Regions from separate parts of the Homo sapiens genome. Here region 1 is linked to region 2. Evidence: promoter capture Hi-C in 16 types of primary human blood cells and fetal thymus (Javierre and others, 2016). All regions are on one chromosome and are shown on one strand. The core of a region is centred on a gene start or on the middle of the fragment in contact, and the rest is flanking DNA. Distances in the headings are between cores, read along the strand shown.

Evidence for each region. Contacts are between HindIII fragments. The CHiCAGO score rates a contact against its expected background, and 5 or more counts as called.
Region 1: a contact is called between a fragment that was not itself captured here and the fragment with the promoter of SF3B4 in region 2, in 1 of 17 cell types (M2 macrophages). The highest score is 5.6, in M2 macrophages.

Annotation. Positions count from the first base shown.
Region 1 is chr1:149,958,779-149,962,857 of GRCh38, forward strand. It overlaps OTUD7B (OTU deubiquitinase 7B), which reads right to left. Exons shown (of 12, transcript NM_020205.4): 7 at 906-1,018. Among named protein-coding and RNA genes, the nearest start is that of MTMR11, 24 kb to the left of the region's middle. The HindIII fragment of the contact is 2,620 bases long and covers 960-3,579 here.
Region 2 is chr1:149,926,553-149,930,674 of GRCh38, forward strand. SF3B4 (splicing factor 3b subunit 4) reads right to left here and starts at 1,251. Exons shown (of 6, transcript NM_005850.5): 1 at 1,174-1,251; 2 at 614-742; 3 at 1-366. The coding sequence starts at 1,207. MTMR11 (myotubularin related protein 11) reads right to left here. Exons shown (of 17, transcript NM_001145862.2): 15 at 3,813-3,995; 16 at 3,071-3,364; 17 at 2,099-2,765. The coding sequence ends at 2,577. RefSeq lists enhancers at 1,048-1,427, 2,562-2,631. The HindIII fragment of the contact is 3,542 bases long and covers 1-3,357 here.

The sequences.
Region 1 (4,079 bases), core at 1,020-3,519, 33 kb after region 2:
TTGTCACCCAGGCTGGAGTGCAGGGGTGCTGTCACAACTCACTGCAGCCTCGACCTCCCCAGCTCAGGCAATCCTCCCACCTCAGCCTCCCAAGTAGCTGGGACTATAGGCATGCACCACCATGCCTGGCTAATTTTTTTTTTTTAAGATGTGGTCTCACTGGCCAGGCATGGTGGCTCATGCTTGTAATCCCAGCACTTTGGGAGGCCAAGGTGGGTGGATCACTTGAGGCCAGGAGTTTGAGATCACCCTGGCCAAAATGGTGAAACCCCGTCTCTAATAAAAATACAAAAATTAGCTGGGCGTGGTGGCATGCATCTGTAGTCCCAGCTACTTGGGAGGCTGAAACAGAGAATCACTTGAACCCTGAAGGCAGAGGTTGCAGTGAGCAGAGATCACACCACTGCACTCCAGCCTGGGCAACAAAGTAAGACTCTGTCTCAAAAAAAAAAGAAAAAAAAGAAAGAAAAAGAAAGGGGGTCTCACTATGTTACCCAGGCTGGTTTCGAACTCCTGGGCTCACACGATCCTCCTGCCTCAGCCTTTCAAAGTGCTGAGATTACAGGTGTGAGACACCACACCCGGCCTGATATGTCTTTTTAGTCCATTTAAACCTACAAGTTCCTGGTCCCTTTTTATTTTCCTTGCAGTTTACTTACTGAAGATACTGGGTCATTTGTCCTGAAGTTTCCAAAGTCTAGATGGGCTACTTTATATTCCAGTTCAATACCGAACTACCTGTAGTTCCTAAACATATCATGTTGTTACACACTTTTGTGCCCTTAGCATAGTTCCCCTCTTTCCTTCTAATATCCTCTTAGCACAGAGCTCTCTAGACACTGGGCTGTGGAAGCCCAGTGAGGACTCTATGCAGGTTTCCTCCTCCCCTACTTAGCCATACTTACCCACCACAGTTGGCTCCATTGGTACCTAGATGCATTCGGGGTTCACTTGAGGCAAGCTTGATCAGTTCATTCCACTCCTTCTGCCATTCATCTTCTGTGTATACCAGCCCTGACTGTGTGAAGGACAGGCAGGGGACATTGGGCAATTAGAGGCTGGGTTCTAAGAGGCAATACCTATTCCACCTTATTCACTGTTACTTACTCCCTAATCCCTTAGCACTTGGTTTACAAATTGTACTACAAAGTCAAATCTCTTATCTCTTTTACAGTCAAGATCCATGAACTAATAGTCTATGACTATTAAACTTCTTTATCATCCATTCTTTTTGACCTACTGCAATCTGTCCCATTTCTGCCCTCCATCCTGCTCACCCACCTGCCACATAACATTTCACCTACCTGATTTTGGCAAAGAACAATGACCTTCTAATTGCCACATTCAGTGGACCCTGGTTCCCATCTTAGCCTTCACATGGGTTATTTTCCTCTTTAAATTTTCTTTGCCATTAGCGTCCATAAAATTACTTTCTATTCCTCTAAATTCTGTCTGCCCCCAAAATACTAGTGGTGTGTCAATGATTTTCACCTTGGTTCCCTCTGGGTGATCTCTTCTACTGCCATAATCTCATCCACTACCATCTGTATGGTATATACCATCTATCTCCAGCCCAGATTTCTTAATTTCTTTTCTTTTTCTTTTCTTTCCTTTTTTTCTTTTTTTTTTTTTTGTAGACAGAGTCACCCAGGCTGGAGTGCAATGGCACAATCTCGGCTCACTGCAAACTTCACCTCCCGGGTTCAAATGCTTCTCCTGCCTCAGCCTCTCGAGTAGCTGGGATTACAGCACCCACCACCAGGCCCAGCTAATTTTTGTATTTTTAGTAGAGACGGGCTTTCCCCATGTTGGCCAGGCTGGTCTCGAACTCCTGACCTGGTGATCTGCCTGTCTCAGCCACCCAAAATGCTGGGATTACAGGCATGAGGCACTGCACTCAGCCTAGACTTCTTAATTTCTATATTCATATATCCAGCTACCTACTGGAGACTGCCACCTGCCCATGGCTACCTCAAACTCTGTAAAGTCAAAATAGAACTCCTGTTTTTTCCCAAACCCACTCTTCTTCCTATTTTCCTACCTTAGTGAATAGCACCAACTATCACCCAAACATCCAAGCTCAAAACCAAGGAATTATCTAATATTCCTTTCTTTCTTTCACCCACCCCACACCTGGATACCTTCTTTTTTTTTTTTTTTTTTTTTGAGACAGAGTCTCACTCTGTCGCCCAGGCTGGAGTACAGTGGAACGATCTCAGCTCACTGCAACCTCCACCTCCCGGGTTCAAGCAATTCTCCTGCCTCAGCCTCCCAAGTAGAAGTGCTGCATACAAAGCCTACTTTCTGGCCCCTACCCACTTCTCTAGTCAGATATATCTCACTGAATCAGCTGTAGTTCCTGAAATATACCATGTTGTTTTATACCACTGAGCTTTTGTCTAAGCTGTTCCTTCTGCCTGGAGTAGCTCACTTTCTGTCAACCTTGTGAACAATTTCTCAACTTTTAGGACAGAACTCAGGTATCATTCCTCCAAATAGTCTTCTAAATCTCCCTTGGCAGATCAACCACTCCTTCCTTTGTATCCTCTCTCCCTAACTGCTATAGAGTTGTTGTTGTTTTTTTGTTTGTTTGTTTGAGACAAAGTCTTGCTCTGTCACCCAGGATGGAGTGTGGTGGCATGATCTTGGCTCACTGCAACCTCCACCTCCCAGGTTCAAGCAATTCTCCTGCCTCAGCCTCCGGAGTAGCTGGGACTACACGTGCACACCACCATGCCTGGCTAGTTTTGTATTTTTAGTAAAGACGGGGTTTCACCATGTTGGCCAGGCTGGTCTCGAACTACCAACAGGTGATCCGCCTGCCTTGGCCTTCCAAAGTGCTGGGATTACAGGCATGAGCCACCGCATCCGGCCAGCATTAACTGCTATAGAGACGTCTATTGTAAGAGTCATACATGTTATAACCTGTTGCAATTATGTATTTACATGTCCATCTCCTCCTCTATGCTAGGATCATGTTTTATGCAATACACCCAAGGTCTATTTTGTGACTATAATCAATAAACATATGCTAAGTGAAACTACAATTTTTATCAAAGGAGAGCAGGCAATGGTACAAGCAATTTTAAAATACATTGGCTTTAGGATGTATATAATGATAAGGGAAATAAGTTTAACTTATTAATTTTATTTGGCTGACATTAGTATTAAAATGAGTCTATACGGCTTAACCGCACACTGACAGAGTAGAAGGAAATCACTGGAAACATGAGGGGTACTGGGAACAAATTTAATGGGAATTTTTTAAATGACACAGCTATTTTCAATTTGTAAAATGCTATCACAAATTTTACTTCAATTAAAAATAAAGAGAGCAATGCCCAGGTTCTATATGGAGTGCTGCAGTCACTCCAATAGACACATCCAGATCCGGCTCCCTCTTCCTGGCCGGTTTCTGCTTCCTGTTTTAATGTACACAGCCACTAGGTGGTGTACAACTTCTAGCCTTAACATTTAAGAAACTATTACTGAGCCTCACCACCAATTTCAACATAAAACAAGGAAGCCCAGGAAATCAAAACTTATTTAGTGTGGTTTTGGTACTGGGGAGCTAAAGGAAGCTTCCCCAGTTCATTATCCTCCTCCTACCATTCCCACTCCCAAGGTGGGTAATAATGCTATGAATGGTCTAAGCTAAGACAATTATGAAAGCCACATTTTCAGTATGAACTTTCACTGTGCTGAGCAAAAGGACTAAAACTATTGCTCCATTACTAGCCACTATTCTCTATGCATGTTGGGGACTTTCAGATGGAAAGGCTGACTTTGAGAGGGAAAGGCTGGCTGGCCAAGGATAGAACGTGGGTATTTCTGGGTTTCCTGGCTAAATACCATTATAATCTAACCCCATCTTTAGAATAATAACTAATTGCTTTAATAACTGGAATTGGGCACACTTAATTTTCTGGGTGTTGCTGTCATTTCTACTTAATAGTTGGCATGTTCTGGTTTGGCCTTTTCTTGCCTCTGCAGTGGTTAAGGTTCCGGTATTATCTGAACTCAACAGTGAAGAGGACAAAGCTGACTACCACAAAACTGACTACTGATTTGCTCTGGAT
Region 2 (4,122 bases), core at 1-2,500:
CATAAGATACGGTGATAGGACGGTTACAGAGGTACTGCCCATTCATGGCTTCAATTGCTGCATCCGAAGCATCAAATGAAGCAAAATTAATAAAGGCATAACCTTTGGAGTTGCCTGTGTCAGGGTCCCGCATAATTTTGGGGGTTTGTAAGATGACCCCAAAGGCGCTGAAAGTATCATAAAGCAACTTCTCATCAATCTCAGGGTCCAGGTTCCCAATGAAAATGTTGGCCCCTACATCCAGGTTTTTGTTGTGAGCTGATGCTTTGTTCACCCGTATTGGCTTCCCATAGAGTTTGATCATGTTCATGATCTTAATGGCATAGTCAGCATCTTCCTCACTCAAGAATTCCACAAAGCCATAGCCTGGAAAAGTGGAGAAGAGGAGGTTAACAACGTAAGTAAAGAGACTGAAAATGGGGTAAAATTCATCTACCCTCTAATCACAAAGAACAAGAAAGAAACAACATCACTTTACTTAAGAATGGTTCCAGAAATAAACTGAAGAGAGGCTTAAAAGAAAAAAATCTTTAGGTTGCTCATGTTATTCCAAAACAGTTGTGAATACTGCTGGGACCCTCCGGGAGCAATTCGCCCCTTGTCATGTACTCACCTTGGTGCTGGCCAGTGACTCTATCCTTTGGCATGTGGGTGTTGACTACTGGTCCAGCCTGGAGAAACAGTTCCCACAGCAGCGGTTCACTAACCTTCTCATCCAGGCCCCCCACGTACACAGTGGCATCTTGAAGGGAGGGAGCAAAAAGAGCAAGCGTGAGAGTGTAACGGGAAGGAAGGAAGTGATGGAAACATGAAGATGGAACCCAACCAGGGGAACTGGGGACCGCGGTAGGGGACAGGAGCAAAAAAAAAAGTTTAAACCCTTAAACTTCTCTCTTCCCAGGACTTCGGGAATCCTCTGAAGTCTAATTTAGTATTGTGAGTGGGTTTTTTTGATTTTTTGAGTGAGAAGTCAGCAGGGGACCGGACTTAAGTATCACACCCAGAGGCCTCAGCCAGCACCCGGCCACCCCGCCCCCAACAGGCAGAGGGCCGGTCTCGCGCCCTCTGGGGAAGGGAGGAGTCCAGTCTCCCACCCCTGCAGAGACACTGCTGGCTGTAGTCGGGGCCTCCTAGCCACGCTGAGCCCATTCCAGACTTTCCCCCTCCAGTTACCCTGATTCCGCTCGGAGATCGGCCCGGCAGCCATGGCGAAAGAGATCCCGCCGTCTCCCAGCAGCGGTTCCGCCTTCTGACCTCAGCACGACTTCCACTTCCGGGGCGAAGACGGACGTAGCGGTGGGCGGGGCCGCGGAAGAGGAGGTGCCTGGAAGCGGCTGCAGCCATCTTAGGAGCCTCCGAAACTTAACCTGGGTCGGGCGGTAGAGTCCTCGGCTCGCGTCCTGAGGTGCCGCTGCTAGTTGTCTTAGCGAGGAGGGCGGAACGGAAACGCTCAGGCCCTCTTAATGCACTGCTAGACTTGAAAGAATCACACTGCTCTCAAAAGTGTAAATTCGAAAGCTAAAAGAACAAAAATTTCAGTTTTAATATATTTTGTGGACAGTGATTCTTCTTCTGTTGTCCAGAGAAGGATGTGCTGAAGAGTTCCCCCCAACCCGAGGACTTGGGGGCTTTCAGGCGCAGAGGGAGCCTTCCCTCTCGCCTGCAGCCTTCTTGCAGATTTGGCCTCACAACCCTGATTTGGGCTGGAGGTATTTGGTTTTCCCTCAGGGGAGGAGACTGCGAAATGTCTGAGCTTAGAGTGACGTCTGCGCTCACCTCGTCCTAATTGCATGGGGAGGGTGAGGGCTGCTCCGCGTTGGTGTGTGACCACAGCTGAGGGGTGGATGGGATCGGAGCTCTAGAGTCTGGATCTCTAGAACACTCTGGCCCCATCTGCCTCTAAATGGGAGACACACACAAGAGAACCCTTTCCCCAAATTGCACTTGAATTTTGCAGAGCCTCACCAAACCCAGTTCCCCTATTTCCTTAGCAATAATATGGTGGATGCCTTCCTCTCTTGGGTCATACACCCCTTTTACCCACCACTTTCCTACCTAGGAGAATCCTTTATTCAAACACAAGAAACAATGCCAGCAATGTGTATAAATACTATGCTTTAATGAGCCCCTTAAATAGAAATTCCACTACAAAAATACAGAGGAGATAGGGTGTTTCCTGTATCCGCCTCATTCCCATAGAAAACTATAAGGGAAGAAATAGAACTTGGAATTAAAGCAGCAGCAAGGCGAGGTGAGAATGCGATTTCTAGGCCATCTTGTTGGGACTGATGAACAGCATCTCTGATCTCATGATTTAACATCTGGTTATCCAGAAGGGATGGGATTGGCCTAAAAAAACCGATCAATTTCTGGATTGTTTTTGTTTCTTAATCCTTCAAATGACAAGAAGCAAAAATATTTGTAGAAACTAAGCAAGACAAGAGTTGGAGCAGTTAACACCACTATCTGCAGCAGAAACTCAGACCTTCTTAGTGAACTTAAGGGCTGAAGTGTGAAAGCTGAGGCTGCAAGTGCAGATACAAAAAAAAAAAAAAAAGATTAGACAGAACCCTCCTCTACCCCAGATCCCCCTCTGCCCTGCCTTTGAGAATGCCAGCAATTTCAGTGGGATTGAGAATGGTATGTGGATCTCTTTTCTTGGAGTGATCCTCAGGAGATATTCTTGGTGTCCATTTCCGTAATAACTCCTGAAGATGGGATAGCTCATCCTGGAGGCCAGAGATTGTGGGAGCTGAGAGGCCCATCTGGGGAGGAGGCAAAGAGGAACAGAGAAGAATACTGTTGTAGCTCTGGCCCCCTGCTTCTCTGCTACTTCTGGTGTCTTTAATTCTGTTTCCCCTTTCAGCTATGCCCTAAATTCCACTTAATCTAAGCCACAAGCACTTTCCCGCACCTCCTACACTCCCAAACCTTGTTTGATGCCAAGAGGAGTAGAACTTCACTTCCCAGACTCCCAGAGGCTTCAGCTCCTTGCCTTTCCAGCTCCTGTTCATCTGGTTCAGCAGAGTCAAGTCCCTTGTCCCACTCCCAGTCTATTTTCCCTTCTTACCTGGACCTCAGGCCTTCCCCTCAGGTAGCAGCGTCTCCAGAGCCTGATCTGGGGTCCCAGATACCCAGGCAGCAGCAGCCCTGGAGGTAAAGGGCAAGCTCCCCAATGTGAGGGGAGACCCCATTCCTGGTCAGCCAGGCTTTCAGAGGAGATAGCAGGTCGAGGGAGCCAACGAGAAGAGACTGCCAGCAGGGAAGGACTGTCCCGCCAAGGACAGAGCTGATTCAGGGGGGTCAATGCTCCTCTAGAGAAGAGCCACACAGAACTGGGGGGTCCAGGAACCATGAAGCTTGGCTAAAAGGAAAAGAAAATCAACTGGCAACAGAGAGACCAGATAACCCTAGTTTCCCCAATCTGGATCAGGACAGGGTGTCCTGCTGCCACCCACTCACTGCACTGGTGACTAGAACTACAAGCCTCCCCATGAGAACTCTTCTACCCTCCTCATTAGGCTTCAACTAGGCCTCGGGACTGATTAAGGTTGATTTTAGGGCACCTTATGTGTGCACGAGACAGGAAGATGAGTAAACAGACTTGAGGAAGGACAAAAAGGGTGCCCTCTGTGCTATTCTAGGTCTTCTGTCTTCCTAGGGACACCCAGGGACTATAAGTGACAGCTGCAGAAGAGTAGTGGAGTAGCTTTCCCTAAGGAACTCAAGACATTTTGTCTTTCACTTCTCACTGTCTAGTAGCATGAGCCTGTGGGAACGTCAAGGGAATTTAGGAAGTTTAGACACTTCACCTGTGGTCTAGGGAGCCAGGAATCTGGACAGTGTTCTGGGTCATAGCCAGGATTCTGGAATTGTAGTATCTGTGCATTGCTATAACGTAAATCCCAGTCCCAGACAGACAGCTGCAGGTTAAAAGAGTTCCCAGCTGGAGGCTGGGAGTATCCTGGGGTGTAGACTTGTGTATAGGAGTTTAACTGGACAGAGGAAGCAAGAAAAAGGATGGTTACACACAATCCTCCCACATCTAGAGACAAATCATGAGATTCTCACCTCTTATTCTAGGAAAGATGTAGGGCAAAAGTCTCGTCCTGAAAATGAGAA